Linked DNA regions of Homo sapiens: region 2 is linked to region 1. The links are contacts of gene promoters, found by promoter capture Hi-C in blood cells and fetal thymus (Javierre and others, 2016). All regions are on one chromosome and are shown on one strand. Each heading gives the region's core, a stretch centred on a gene start or on the middle of the fragment in contact. The rest is flanking DNA. Distances are from core to core; before and after follow the strand shown.

Region 1 (6,699 bases), core at 1,203-3,702:
GTCCTATCCTCATCCTACAGAGAAAGGAAGGCTGTTTTTCACTCTTGTAGTAGTAATAAAGTCTGTTTGATCAGCCACTTTGCACTTTAGCTCATCCATATCTTAAAACAAAACAAACTAGTCCCCCAAGTTTCTTCCACTTTTTTTTAGGGTAGCAGTTTCCCAAATCTTAGCCTATGGAGATGAGGCTGCAGAATGAAAGAGGTTGGGGCAAGGGTACTCACGGCAAGGCCAGTGGCAGTGACTGCCAAAAGCAAGCCAAGCAAGAAGCAGCAGATACATCTCTTACGTGGGTATCTGCGCCCAATAGATGACCTGTGGGGAGGCAAATAGAAATGGATGCTTTCTATGGCCTTGTAGTTTTTACTCCATACATCAATTACCAGCTCAATCCCTAATCACTTACACTTTCCTGCAGTGAGGACAACGTGCCAAAGTGCGGTCTGTGAACTCTGTCCACTATGGAGAAAGAAAACAAAAATAATAGCACAAGCAGGGTCTCCCTCAATGAGAACCTTGGGGTGGGGATGCAGAACATGTTCCCATAGGACAGACCTTTCAGGGGTCATTACCATTACTCTAAGAAATATACTCGAAATGACTCTTAGTCTCCTTTCCCCTCCCCTTCCCAATACCCCTTCCTCACCAGAAAAGTATTCTTGCAATGTCCACAGATAACCCTGACACCCATGGGTTGGGGTTCTGGACTCAGAGGTCCGGGATGCACAGGCCCCAGGTTGATGATTCTTTTGCTATACAAAAGAAAAAGACTTGTATTTTCAAACTTGTGTTTGAAAAATTTTTAATCCTAAAAATCTTCACAGTCCCTGTTCCACATCCCCCACTCCCTGTCTATTAAGTCACTCGACTTCTCTGTACTTAAGATACTCTGTCCCCCAACTGTATACCCTCAAGAATCCTTGAGAAAGAAAGAGCACTGTTTAAACTTCAGGTCCCCAATTCCCCTCCGACCTCAGGATAACACACCCAGTCCCCAAGGCTCTCTATTCTCCGAAACGACATCATTTCATCTCAATATTTTTATTGAGAAACGAGAAAGACAGCTATAACATTCCTGAGGCACATGCTTCAAAGCCTTTTCTCCTAAATAAACACTAGGCTCTCTCACCTTTACATTCTCTGTATACGCTCATCCTTTTTTGACTTTCCAGTTCCCCACTTAGGCCCTTCCCCACCTTATGCCTCTTACCAGTAGGGCCGAGGGCATGCAATCCGTTGGGATGTCACTTTGCAGATAAGGAGACAGTTACAGGGGCATCGAACATATTTTTTCCCTGGGGGTGCATTCTTGATTGGCTAGAGAATAATAGGGTCATCAGCAAGCAAACCTCTAATCCCAATCCCCTCCACTTCCCTCCAAAAACACTTTATGAGATCAGAAAAATAAGGTGCTAACCAGGAAGGAGAAATAAAAGAAAGACTATATCATGAGATTTGCAAATAGGAACTAGGCTAGGTGTAAAAGTGAGAGAAAGTGAACATTAGCTTTGGTGAGTGGCTTCTGGGGAAATGGCTGTGTGAGACACCTGGAACTGAAACCTGGGTATCATCAAAAGCACTTGGCTAATAGCCGGAAGGTCAGGGTCTAGAACCAAGACATCAGAAAGAGGATCCAGGAAACAGGGCCCATTTCATAGATATGTGTAACTCACGGTGGCTTCATTGCAGACACCACATTTGACTACATGCTGATGCATCTTGCCTTCCACGTTGATGAGAGATTGGCAGACTCGGCAGGTGATCATAGGGGCACTCCCACTGTCCGGGCTAGTTAAGGGTGAATAGGGGGGTGGGTCCTCCCCAGGCAACACGGCTGGATGCCCCTCGGGAAACGGGGGAAATGCTGGAGAGGAAGCAAATAGAAGGGCTGGGATCACTTACACCCCCACTGATGCTCCACGGTGGTAGGGAAGTCCTTCTGATCTTCAACCCTCTGACCAAGCTCGGAGGGCTTCTCATAATTGGCACTTCTATCAGGTTGCTCAGAACCCCCTTCCGTCCCTAGGCTGTGGTCGCGATTACGGAGGGAAGGAAGCCTCGCCCAGTCACAGGTGCAGCAGTCCCGCACCTGGCGACTGGGACCCGCCTCCGCCCTCGGTCCCGCCCCCTCCCCGGCTTTCAGAGTACCCCGGGGAGCACCTCGGACCCGCCCCGGCTTACCCTGGGGCGGGGCATGTTTACCGGCTCCGTACGGTGGTGCGGAGGGGGTCAGGCCTCCCCCGGGCCCAGCCCCACTCCCGCCGGGCCCCACTAAACCGTTGCCGCCCGCGCCACCGTCGATGGGCTCAGACAGCAGCGGGGAACGCTCTCCATCTGCCGCCATGGCCGCCACCGCCGCCTCCCGCTCAGGTCGGCGATCCGGCTCCCTTCGCCTCTGCCGTCGCCGCAGCCACCGCCACCGCCGCCACCGCCACCGCCGCTACCGGGTCCCCAGGGCGCCTGCGCGCCGCGCGCCCAGCTCACTCCGCAACCAGTGGCCTGCCCCGCCCCGTTCCGTCTAGCAGCACGTGATAGGCTATCCCCGCCCGGGTCATGCTATTATTCGCGTAGATAAACCAATTCCTGGTCCTGTGAAGGCAGCTCTCCTTTTCCATTGGGGAGCGACGCACAAACGTCAACTGTCACATGACCTGCCAGATGCTGCTGGGCTTGCAAAACCTGCACGTGACTAGAGGTTCTGCAAGCTATTGGGAGCGACGCCCATCGCGCTACCTCCAGACCAGGAGGTAGGGCTAGGCTGCGTCTGCTCAACTGGTCACGTGTTTCTGGAAGCTGCACGGTCCCTGTTGCTCTGCTCCTCATTGGTTCAAAGACACCACTAAAACACTTTTCTCCGGCTTTGCGTTGTAGCTGGTTTCCTATTGGCTGGTGACTTTACTTCTTTCGTCCTGTGATCCTAGCGGCGCAACTGCATTGGCCCGAACTTAGCGCCAGAACATGGGGGGCGTGGCTTATGCATTTTAAAGGAGGCTGGGCGGGTGCAATAAAGGAGTGCGGAAGCTTGGGATCTTCTGAGCGGGGAGAAAATGGACGGTGGGGAACAGTAGACAAAGTTAGCTGTTCTACTCAAAGAAGTACCTTTAAAAAGTCAGAGTAATGAGGTACCAGAAGGAAATGGATTAAAAAGTTAAGATTATCACTCCAGCCTTTGTCGCTAGAGTCACTTTCAGGACAGGACACAAGACTGGGTTTTCCTGGAAGCTGTCCTTACAGAGCCCCGTCTTTCCCCATTGCTGATCAAATTGTTAAATTATCTTTTCATTAGTGTCTCCACTACTAGAAGATTTCATCGTTTTACTAAAAAAAAAAAAAAAAAAATTCAATAGAGATGGGGTCTTGCCTATGCTGGACTCAAACTCCTGAGTTTGATCTCCTGCCTAAGCCTTCCCAGTAGCTGGGACTACAGGGACAAGCCACCGTGCCTTTACTCAGTTTTATGACCACCAACCTTTAACATACGCACAAGTTTGTAGATTGGATTAATCAAATACAAGGTTATTTTCGTCACCTTATTTGACAGATGGGACAGTCTTTAGGCCTGTCTCAACTTTGCTTCCAGCAAAGGGGCAGTGCCTCCTCCCCTACCTGAAGTCTCGTGTGGTCTTTATGGGCGCCTGAACCACACCTGGATTTTTTCCCAAGTCATAGCCCAAACTGGGACTGCTTTAAATATGGGAAGCAACAAGGAATTGATAAAAACAATAAACCCCGAGGAGGTCCATTATCAGTTTGGCTAGCAGACTCTCCACTAAGAAAGGAAGTGCATCAAAGAAAGTACAGCCAGCCCCAAATATGTAATAACAAAGGAACTGCAGATGTCCCAGCACTTGGCTGCTACAGGGGCTGGAGACTTCACCTAGGTCCTGATTTTTTTAGACAGGGTTTTCTCAGGCCAACTTCTACTTGGAAGCTAGTAACCTTCGACCAGTTAGATAAGAGCCCCTAACAGACACTTAAAGAACTAAGGAAGCTCCAGATACAAAATAGGGAAGAGGTTGTAGCTCCATAGAGGGAGGCCAGTCTGCTGCTTTTTCTGCTGTTTGTGGCACACAGATGCTCAAGCATTGTCTGGGGTTGGAGTAGGATCCATTATTTGCGCCCTAGTTACACATATATTCCAAAAACTGTCCTAAAAATATTTTTTAAATATCTACACTTTGTGAAAGACACTCCTTAAAAAAGCTTACACTCTGGGTAGGGAGACAGAATAGTGTAAACATTGACAGTATAACATATCAGGTCAGGAGTGGTGGCTCATGCCTGTAATCCCGGTGTTTTGGGAGGCTGAGGTGGAGGATTGCTTGAGCCCAGGAGTTCAAGGTTACAATGAGCCATGATCTAAACCTGGGCAACAGAGCAAGATCGTGTCTCAAAAAAAAAAAAAAAAAAAAGAAAATCAGCACTAGTATTTTATTACATGGAAAAATATCAATACTAGAAATTCATGATACAGCACATGCTTCATAATAAAAGAATTAAACAATGTAATTCAAGTTCAAGAAAAGAAGAGATCACTTCTAGCTAGAGCAGCCAGAGAAAACTTCTAAAACATAAAGAAAAATGAGTATTGTGCATGGATAACTAGGATCTGAGCTCTGTGTTGTTGAGTAGATCAATAGGCAGAAAAATGCAAAAAGTAATCATAATATTTGGAACTTGCTCACAGTTAATAAAGCATTTTTTTTTTTGAGACAGAGTCTCACTCTGTCGCCAGGCTGGAGTGCAGTGGTGTGATCTCTGCCCACCTCCCGGGATCAAGCGATTCTCCTGCCTCAGCCTCCCGAGTAGTTGGGATTACAAGTGTGTGCCACCACACCCAGCTAATTTTTGTATTTTTAGTAGAGATGGGGTTTCACCATGTTGGCCAGGATGGTCTCAATCACTTGAACTCGTGATTCACCCGCCTCGGCCTCCCAAAGTGCTGGGATTACAGGCGTGAGCCACTGTGCCCGGCCAATAAAGCACATTCATAGTTATATTCATTTTATTTCAGAACCCACTGTGATGTGGACAGGGAAGGCAAGACTATATCTTTATTTTACAGATGTGGAAACTGAGGCTGTGTAAACTGGAGTCATTTAAGCTAAGTGACAGATTGAAATGGAGCTCTAAATCCCCGTCTTCTGACTTATGATCTAATATTTTACATTCAAATAATTTGATAGGTAGATTGAAAGGGACAGAAGCACAGAAGTGGCAGAGAGAAGGTGCTTGGGATGAGCCCCCTTTTATGCTAAATGCCTGGAACATAGAAGCTGCTTGATAGATGGCTCTCTAATTAATTAATGAAGTAACTTAAGCCCCATCTTGGGATAAATTTGCTGGGTACTGAACAATATTGTTAGCTGCAGTTGCAAGCAGGGAGGATATTCAGCTGGGGCACTACAGGGTGGCTGGCATTGGTTGTTTATGGCGCCATTGGTTCTGATTGGTTGGTACCTGTATTTTACAGATAAGCCATTTTAATATTATCTCTGGTAAATATTGAGTGTCTCAGGTATTGCCTGATTTTTACCTATGGGGTGGGATCTTCTCACTTAGATTGAGAACAGTTAGGCTATTGAGGTGTATTAATTTGCTAGGACATAAAAAACACTATAGATAGCATAAACGACAAACATTTATTTTCTCACAGCTCTGGAGTCTGGAAGCCCAAGATCAAGATATTGGCAGGTTTGCTTTCTCCTGAGGCTTCTCTCCTTAGCTTACAGATGGCCACCTTCTCACTGTGGCATAAATGGCCTTTTCTCTACACACATTTTTGCTTTCTCTTCCTCTTTCTCTTCTTTTTCCGTGCTTTTAGAGACAGGGTCTCACTCTGTCACCCAGGCAGGAGTGCAGTGGTGCAGTCATAGTCTGTGGCGGCCTTGAACTCCTGGGCACAAGCAGTCCTGCCACCTCAGTCTCCCAAGTAGCTGGGATGACAGGTGCATGCCACCATGCCTAGCTAATATTTTAATTTTTTGTAGAGACAGGGTCTCACTATGTTGCCCAGGCTGGTCATTGGTCTCTAACTCCTGGGCTCAAGTGATCCTCTTGCTTTGGTGTCCAAATGCTGGGATTACAGGTGAGCACCACCCTGCCTGGCCTCTCTTCTTCTTATGAGAACAACAGTCTTATTGGATTGTGGCCCCACCATTATGACCTCATTTAAACTTAATTACCTTTTTAAAGGACTTATCTCCAAATATAGTCACAATGAGGATTAGAGCGTCAATATAAGAATTTGGGGGAACACACTTCATTGTGTTATATAATAGAATAGATTTCAAAGCATTTTTTTCTTTAGATTTCCAACAAAGTGATAACTAGTACAGTGTGTACATGGCCAGAGGATGGGGTGGAAAACATCTGCTTGGCTTCTATGACCCAAAGTGTCCCAATCTGATTTCTTTTTTTTCACATATTCCACATGCCCTATTTCTTTTTTCCTCTTTCCTGAAGTGGTAATTTACCACCTGTGTGAAAACAACACAATCCCTTACTGCATTTCAAAGGCACAGAAAGTTTCTGGTAATGTGCAGAGTGAGTTAACTAAGACGAGGGGTAGTTTGCCGGGGGTTGGGTGGGATTGGGTAGGGTGTGACCTGGTTTTAAAGAATTAATTTACGTTAATTACATTGGGACTTTGCTCCCTTGTGCTCCTTGCTCTTCCTGGGCCTCAGTTCTTTGCTCTTT
Region 2 (7,049 bases), core at 1,834-4,333, 2.8 Mb after region 1:
AGGTTAACCAGGAGGAGAGGCTTATATAAGGCATGAATGTGAGTGGGTATGAGAGTCCAGCTTTCCCACTGCACTTGCTCTGGTTATGGAGCAGACTGCCATCTTCTGGTGCCATTTACTATTCAAGTTGCTTTGGTGTTTTTTTGTTTTTGTTTTTTTTTTTTTTTTTTTTTTACAACCAAGTGGATTGATTGAAATGCTTTGATTCTTCATTTGAAATGTTTCTATTCCATATACCCATTATCTTTTATCCTCACAAAAGCCCTTAACATTGTTTCCTTTAATCTTTGGGGTTCTTAAGCATCATTTCCACCAACAGAGATGTACCTACCCACAGTTGTCTCAGAGCATGGAGGCTGAAAGTCTGTGAGGACAAGAGTGAAATGGAGCAGAGGATAGGCTGTGGTTTGGAAGCGGCTCTGGAATACGCTGGGGGTGGCGGTGGGGCTGAAGGTTGGTTATGGGATGCTTCCTGGGCTCCGGAACATCTGTGCCAAAAACTGGAGGACCCATCCTCGGCTCCAGCCAGACGCTTGGGGTGCTATGTATTCTGAACCATAGCACTAGGTTGGAAAATTTGGCTCCTAATCTATACTCTGCCATGTACAGATCACAAAATATCATACAAGGAGCCTTAAAAGGTCATCTAACCTAAATCCAGTTTCCCAAGGAGAACACTGGGGCACAAAGAAGTGAGAGGTAACTCGCCCAAAGTTATATAGCTAGTCAGGGACTTCCTCTTCGGAGACAAAGGAAATCAGAATAGTGATTCTTCTGATTCACCGTCCCTCGACAAACAGTCCACAAAGTGCTTGGAGGTTATTAAAAGGCACCCCAGAAAAGTAAGGCTGGCATTTTCCTGGAAGCCCCTGAGTGTACAACCCCTGAGGCTCAGTATTTGGCTATAAAAACAGGTCTGGAGTTGCTTTGGCCTCCGTTTTAATCCCTAAAGCTGCCTGGAGGCTGGAGCTCTGATAGCTACCTGTCATCACTCCCCAGCCAGTCCGCGGACACCGCAGCCAGGAACTGTCAGAGGTGACAAGGGAATCCCGTCATAATGCCAAGGACCAAGGAGCAGTGGCCAGGTTCCTGGGATTAAGCAAGGCAATTATGGCTGAGTTAAAGCTAGGATGGGTAGGACAGGGGGATCTGAGGTGGAAAAGGCCGGTAAGAAGAGGGAATGCGCCAGCAATGTAAATGCCTTCGACTGGGTGGGCTACTTCACATCATACCTCCTCCATCTCCAAAAGGTTCTTAACCTTCTTCAACCGCCTAGGCCTGATGGACCTCCTCCCTTTCTCCCAGAGCCCACTCACTGAAGGGAAGGCCACCATCATCCCCATTCTTTTCCTTTTTTTATAATCCCTCCGGTGCCGTTTCGGGTCTCCTTCCTCCTATATTCTGAGTTCCTTCCACTCACATCCAACCAGCTTTTAACACCCGGATCTCCCGGAGCTTCTTTGGTTCCGCTCACTCCCCCCGCCCCCACGCCCCCACGCCCCCACGCCCCTGATTTCCCCACCCTTTTCGCCCTCCCCGGCTTGACTCCCTTGGACCGCTCCCGCCAATCCTGGTCTCTCCTACTCCTCCCCGCCACATCGGGTCGCCCCGCCCCCGGGTGCCTTTGGTGTTTTCCGCCGTCGGCCGCAGGCGCCTCGTCTCAGATAAAGTGGATCCAGCCCTGCGGCTCCGGAGCTCCGCCACTGCCCGGGTGCTCGGGCCCACGTAGAGCATAGTCACGGCCGCCGTTGTTGTCCCAGAACTCGTGACCTGTCACACGGTAGCGCAAGGCGAAGAGCAGGGCGCCCCCAATCGGCGGCGCGGGCAGGCGGAAGGCGAAGCGGTCGGCGCGCGGCGGGGGCGGGGCCGGACCGGCGTAGGCGGCTGGCGCCTCGCGTTGGCTCCGCCAGCCGTCGGCGCTCCAGCGCACGCTCACGCGCTTCTCGTAGGCCAGGTCCACCACGCGCGCGCTCCCGGCCACGCCCAGCGGGCCCGCCTCGGCGCGTTCCAGGCAGATGCGCTGCGTCAGCAAGCGGGCGGCGAAGCCGGGCTCGCTGGCCGGCTCCAGGGCGGCGCGCGCCTCCTGGGGGAAAGAAGAAGCGGGAGGAGGGAGCCCAGGGCGGAGAGAGGGGAGAGACAGGGGGCGGTGTCAGAGCAAGGCACTGGACCAATCAGAGGCCGACCCCGGCGTCCAGGCCGGCAGAGTGCGGCCCAGCTGCCAGGGTGGCCTAGAGCCACTCGCAGATGGGGTCCCCAAAAGGGATGGGCAGGCGCAAGCCCAGGGATGGGATGGAGATGGGTGCTCTTTGGCAAATCCACTCCCACAAGCCCGCTGCGGCCGACTGGAGGAGGTCCCCAGGAGGGGAGGTGCCCCCGCCGCCTACCTGGAGGCCGCGGGCGCGGGGCTGGCAGGGCGCGAAGTGGCGGAGGGCGTCCCTCTGCAATTGGATCTGCACGTGGCGGGGCACCCGGGGCAGCTCACCGGGACGGAAGCGGCGCACGACAGCCAGCTCCAACCCCAGTGCGTCGGCGAAACGCACTCTCTTGCGGGTGTCTGGGCTACGGCTGCGGGGCGCCCGGGCCCCGCCGCCTCCGGCTGGTGCAGATCGGGCCCGGCGGCCCCGACTCGGTGCGTGAGCGCGGGATCGGGCCCCGAACCGCGTCCCGCCCTCGCCTGGCTCCTCCTCCGGCTCCTCCTCGAGGCTGGGCCGCTGGCTACGGTAGTAGGCGCGCTCCGTTAGCGCGGCGATGAAGCTCAGGTTGCGGGGAATGTCGGTGCCCGGGGGCCGCTCACGGGACATGGCAGCCCCTTCCCCGGCGGGGCCAGCTCGCAGCGCCACCGCGCTCCCCTCTCTTCCTCTCTCCCGCCCGCCCCGCGTCAGCGCAGAAGTCGCTGGGTCCGCTTCTGCAGCCCCTCGCTGCTGTGTATTCTCCTTGCAGACACCTCCAGGATCCTCCACCTCCCGTTGCTTTGCCTCTCCTCTGTGACCACCCTTCCCTCCCTCTGGCCGTCAGCTTCCAGGGTCTTAGACTATCACATCCTGCCTCCTGCTAGCGGTCTGCTCTGAGCGTGCGCTCAACTGCACTCACCCTCCGGTTCCAAGGCCCTCACGGCCCGGGCGCCCCCGCCCACAGCCCTCTGACAGGTGGCTCCGCTTGTCTTCGCTGCTGCACCAGGGGGCGGGGACTCCACCTTTGCGGTCCCGAGTGAAGCTACTCAACCTTTTAAAAAAAACATCCACGGACGGGACGCGATGGCTCACGCCTCAAATCCCAGCACTTTGGGAGGCCGAGGTGGGAGGATCGCTTGAAGCCTGGAGTTCAAGACCAGCCTGGGCGTCATAGTGAGACCCCTGATCTCTACAATAATAATAATAATAAAATGTAAAAAGTCCTCAACTTTTCCGGCACAGCACAGGAAAGGTTAACGCCGGGAAGAAAAAATAACCTTTCATTTTCTTGCAGGGGAAGGTTCAAAACGCCCAGCATGTGACTTTATCTTTGGGGTTCACTGTTTTCTTTTCTGAAACCTAGGCTCCTGGTTTGGGCAGGGGGTGGTGGTGCGTGCAAAGAAGGAAAGGTCATGAAAGCTAGGTAGAGTCTTTCAAATAGAAGGTGAGAATATGGCACCCGAACTGAGAACTGCAGGAAGACCTAGCTTCTAGTGACCTTGAGCAAGCAAGGCATAACTTCTCTGGAGTCAGTGTTCTCGTGTGTGTGTGTGTGTGTGTGTGTGTGTGAGTGTGAGATGGAGTCTCGCTCTGTCGCCCAGGCTGGAGTGCAGTGGCGTGATCTCGGCTCACTGCAACTTCTGCCTCCCCGGTTCAAGCGGTTTTCCTGCCTCAGCCTCCTGAGTAGCTGGGATTACAGGCGTCCACCACCACGCCCGGCTAATTTTTGTATTTTTAGTAGACACGGGGTTTCACCATCTTGGCCAGGCTGGTCTTGAACTCCTGATCTCAGGTGATCTGCCCGCCTCGGCCTCCCAAAGTGCTGGGATTACAGGTGTGAGCCACCCCTGAACTCAGAGCCATACTCTGAACTCAGTGTTCTTATCTGTAAAAAAGTGGTGGAGTTCTGATTTCTAATCCAAGTGTAAGCCCTTTGAGGGCAGGGGCTTTGTCTGATTCATGGTGAGTTTTAGTATATGGTAGGCACTCAAATTATTGAATGAACAAGCACCCAACAACTCTCTTGGAGTTGGGACTGTGGAATTATAGGTCCAGTGGGAGCTTCCAAGAAGGGCAGAGCTGGCTTTTTCCCCTTTCATTTTTTTTTTTTAACATTAGTGAAAAAAAAAAGTGAAGTTGTTTTTAGTTTTTTTCTAACTTTCCTACTGATCTAATATAGCACTTACAATGTGCTAGGTACTGTTGTAAGGGTTTTACAAATACTAACCCATGTAATACAACCATCAGAGGAATAGAGACTATTATGTCTAGTTTAAAGATGAGAGAATTGAGGGAGAGAGGGGAGAGGACTCTTACCCAGGGTCACATAGTTAATAATTGGGGAGGTGGGATTAGGACCTAAACAGTTTAGCTCTAGAGTCCACGCTCTTACCCGCTTGGTTATATAAGATTAAAACATTTAACAATAATAGTTAACATCCTCAGAGTGTTAAAAGAGGGAATATTAGAGTAGAAATGAAGTCTCTAAATTTAAAGCAGCAGGATAGTTTAACTGTAAAACCACAAGTGACTAAGTTGAAAATAAACCATGAGACACATGTTATCTTATTATTATACAATTCATTCCTGTTTACATGCATTCGCACTAGTATTGACTGTAGCAATACTAGTTAGCTAGGACTCATTTTTAAAGCAATATTGACTTTTTAAATTTTACACGTATATAGAATGCATGGATGTATTCTCTTCGTATCATTATATGTGATACAATATATACAATGTATATATTGTATATGCATATACAATATAATATATATAATGCATATAAATTAATGTCTAATAAATCATACATTAATTTATGTTACAATCAAGCTGGCCCAGGAGTTTGAGATCAGTCTGGGCAACATAATGAGATCCCTATCTCTATAAAAAATGAATTTAACCAAGCATGGTGCAGTACACCTCTAGTCCCAGCTACCAGGGAGGCTGAAGTGGGAAGATTGCTTGAGCCTAGACGGTGGAAGCTGAAGTGAACTGTGCTTGTACCACTGCACTCCAGTTTAGGCCATGGAGTGAGAACCTTGTATCACAAACAAACAAATAAACCAGGAGTGCAAATGAAGACTTGGACTAGGTTATTCTCTAAAGAAGAGGGCAACCTTGCTGGTGGCAGCCAGAATGATCAGGCTAAGAGCAAAAATGAAATGAGGATGGTTGAAAGGATACAGCCATAAAGGAGTGTAATAGGCTGTGTGTTTAGAATAGAGGAGAGAATTGAGTATGGACTTGTAAATGGTGTGGATTCAGACTATGAGAACCATATTGACTATGTGAAGGCAAGAGGTGATCTTGAAGCGATAGTGTCAAAGTTACAGCATGAGATGGCTGTGCTAGCTTCTTACATATCAGCCTATGGCTTTGGGAAAATCACTTAACCTCTCCAAACCTCAATTTCCTCATTCATAGAATGAGGATAAAACAGCATAAGGACTGGTGAGAGGAAAAAATACACATGTAAAAAAAGCACAGCATCTAATAACTCCTCAAAATATGTTAGTTTTTACCTTTTTTTTTTTTTGAGATAGAGTCTCGTTCTATCACCCAGTCTGGAGTGCAGTGGCATGATCTCAGCCTCCTGGGTTCAAGTGATTCTCATGCCTCAGCCTCCTGAGCAGCTGGGATTACAGGCTGGCTAATTTTTGTATTTTACGTCTGGCTAATTTTTGTATTTTTAGTAGAGATGGGGTTTTGCCATGTTGGTCAGGCTGGTCTCGAACTCCTGGCCTCAAGTGATCCACCCGCCTTGGCCTCCCAAAGTGTTGGGATTACAGGTATGAGCCACCGAACCCAGCTAGTTGTTACTGTTATTGCTGCAGAAAAGACCTTGCTTCTCCAGTGACCATAAGGGAAGATGGTAATACAGAGGCTTGGATTGGAGGTAGAAGCAAAGGGAGCTAGCAGAATAGGAGAATTAGGTTGCCTCTTTCTGGCCTTTGGTTGGGGCACTCTTTAAAAAAGTGCCAGATCCAAGAGCCCAGGGGGCTGGCTGTGAGTGCCCTCATGTGGATCAGCTATGGTCAGACTGCTTCACGCCTGTGACCTGCCCTGTATAAATATACTGCCATGTATAAATAATGGCCCCATATATATGTAATCTGGAAGGATAAACATCAAGCTTAACACTGGCAACCTGCAGGGAGGGAAGTGGAATTGGGTGTGTATGTGTGTGTGTGTTTGAGAACCTGTATTTTATTACTCCGCACGTCTTTATTGTTTGATTTTTTTCATAATGAGAATGAGTTTGTGTGTTGGGTAAAAAAAAGAAAAAGAAAAAAACCCCACTAAAATCAATCTAATTACAAAAGAAGATGAATTAAAGAAAAGTACCGAGAGAAACTGCTTGTGATCCAAGTCCTGGCTCCCTAATGCCTGGCTGAAGCCCAGCCCACAAAGAGAACACTGGGTTAAAGGTCCTGGAGAAAAGATGGGAAAGGTTTGGTGTCTATGTGGTGTCTGCTAGCCCCATAAGGGTAAGGCACCTGGTAGACGGTTCCCAGCTTAATGGGAACTGCTCCTGTTTTCCAGGCACACAGTTCAGGGCTGGAAAAGTTCAACAAGTGCATGGAACATCGGAAACCTCCTGAAAATGCTAAATTTGCCCCGAGATGTCCCGAAGTCCGGCATATTTCTCTGGGCAGCCTAGAGGCTCAGGAGCCCAGCCCAGCCCAGCCCACCGTGCCCTCTCAGCCAGCCCTTCTTTGCCTTCAGCAGCCCTCCCTCTTCCTGAGTAGTGGCCCTTTGCAGGCCTGCGTCCCAGCCCCGCCCCTCTCTCTGGACGCATCTCTGGGCCCCATCATCACCCGGCGCCGGGCCCTCCCTCTGCCCCCCCCTTTCTCCTCCCTCCTTCCTTCCCTCCCT

What was found. Contacts are between HindIII fragments. The CHiCAGO score rates a contact against its expected background, and 5 or more counts as called.
Region 2: the fragment with the promoter of PPP1R3E here is called in contact with the fragment with the promoter of PIP4P1 in region 1 in 1 of 17 cell types (erythroblasts); the score reaches 5.2 in erythroblasts.

Annotation. Positions count from the first base shown.
Region 1 is chr14:20,458,982-20,465,680 of GRCh38, forward strand. PIP4P1 (phosphatidylinositol-4,5-bisphosphate 4-phosphatase 1) reads right to left here and starts at 2,453. Exons shown (of 7, transcript NM_144568.4): 1 at 2,203-2,453; 2 at 1,674-1,864; 3 at 1,211-1,317; 4 at 647-752; 5 at 407-459; 6 at 225-315. The coding sequence starts at 2,344. RefSeq lists enhancers at 1,773-2,739, 2,668-2,737, 2,740-3,705, 3,038-3,117 and silencers at 1,908-2,077, 2,138-2,547. The HindIII fragment of the contact is 6,669 bases long and covers 1-3,019 here.
Region 2 is chr14:23,299,776-23,306,824 of GRCh38, forward strand. It overlaps PPP1R3E (protein phosphatase 1 regulatory subunit 3E), which reads right to left and starts at 3,084. Exons shown (of 5, transcript NM_001276318.2): 1 at 2,385-3,084; 2 at 1,523-2,083; 3 at 983-1,089. The coding sequence starts at 2,801. The coding sequence ends at 1,661. RefSeq lists an enhancer at 1,531-1,720 and silencers at 1,781-2,210, 2,221-2,280, 2,361-2,870. The HindIII fragment of the contact is 16,311 bases long and covers 1-6,304 here.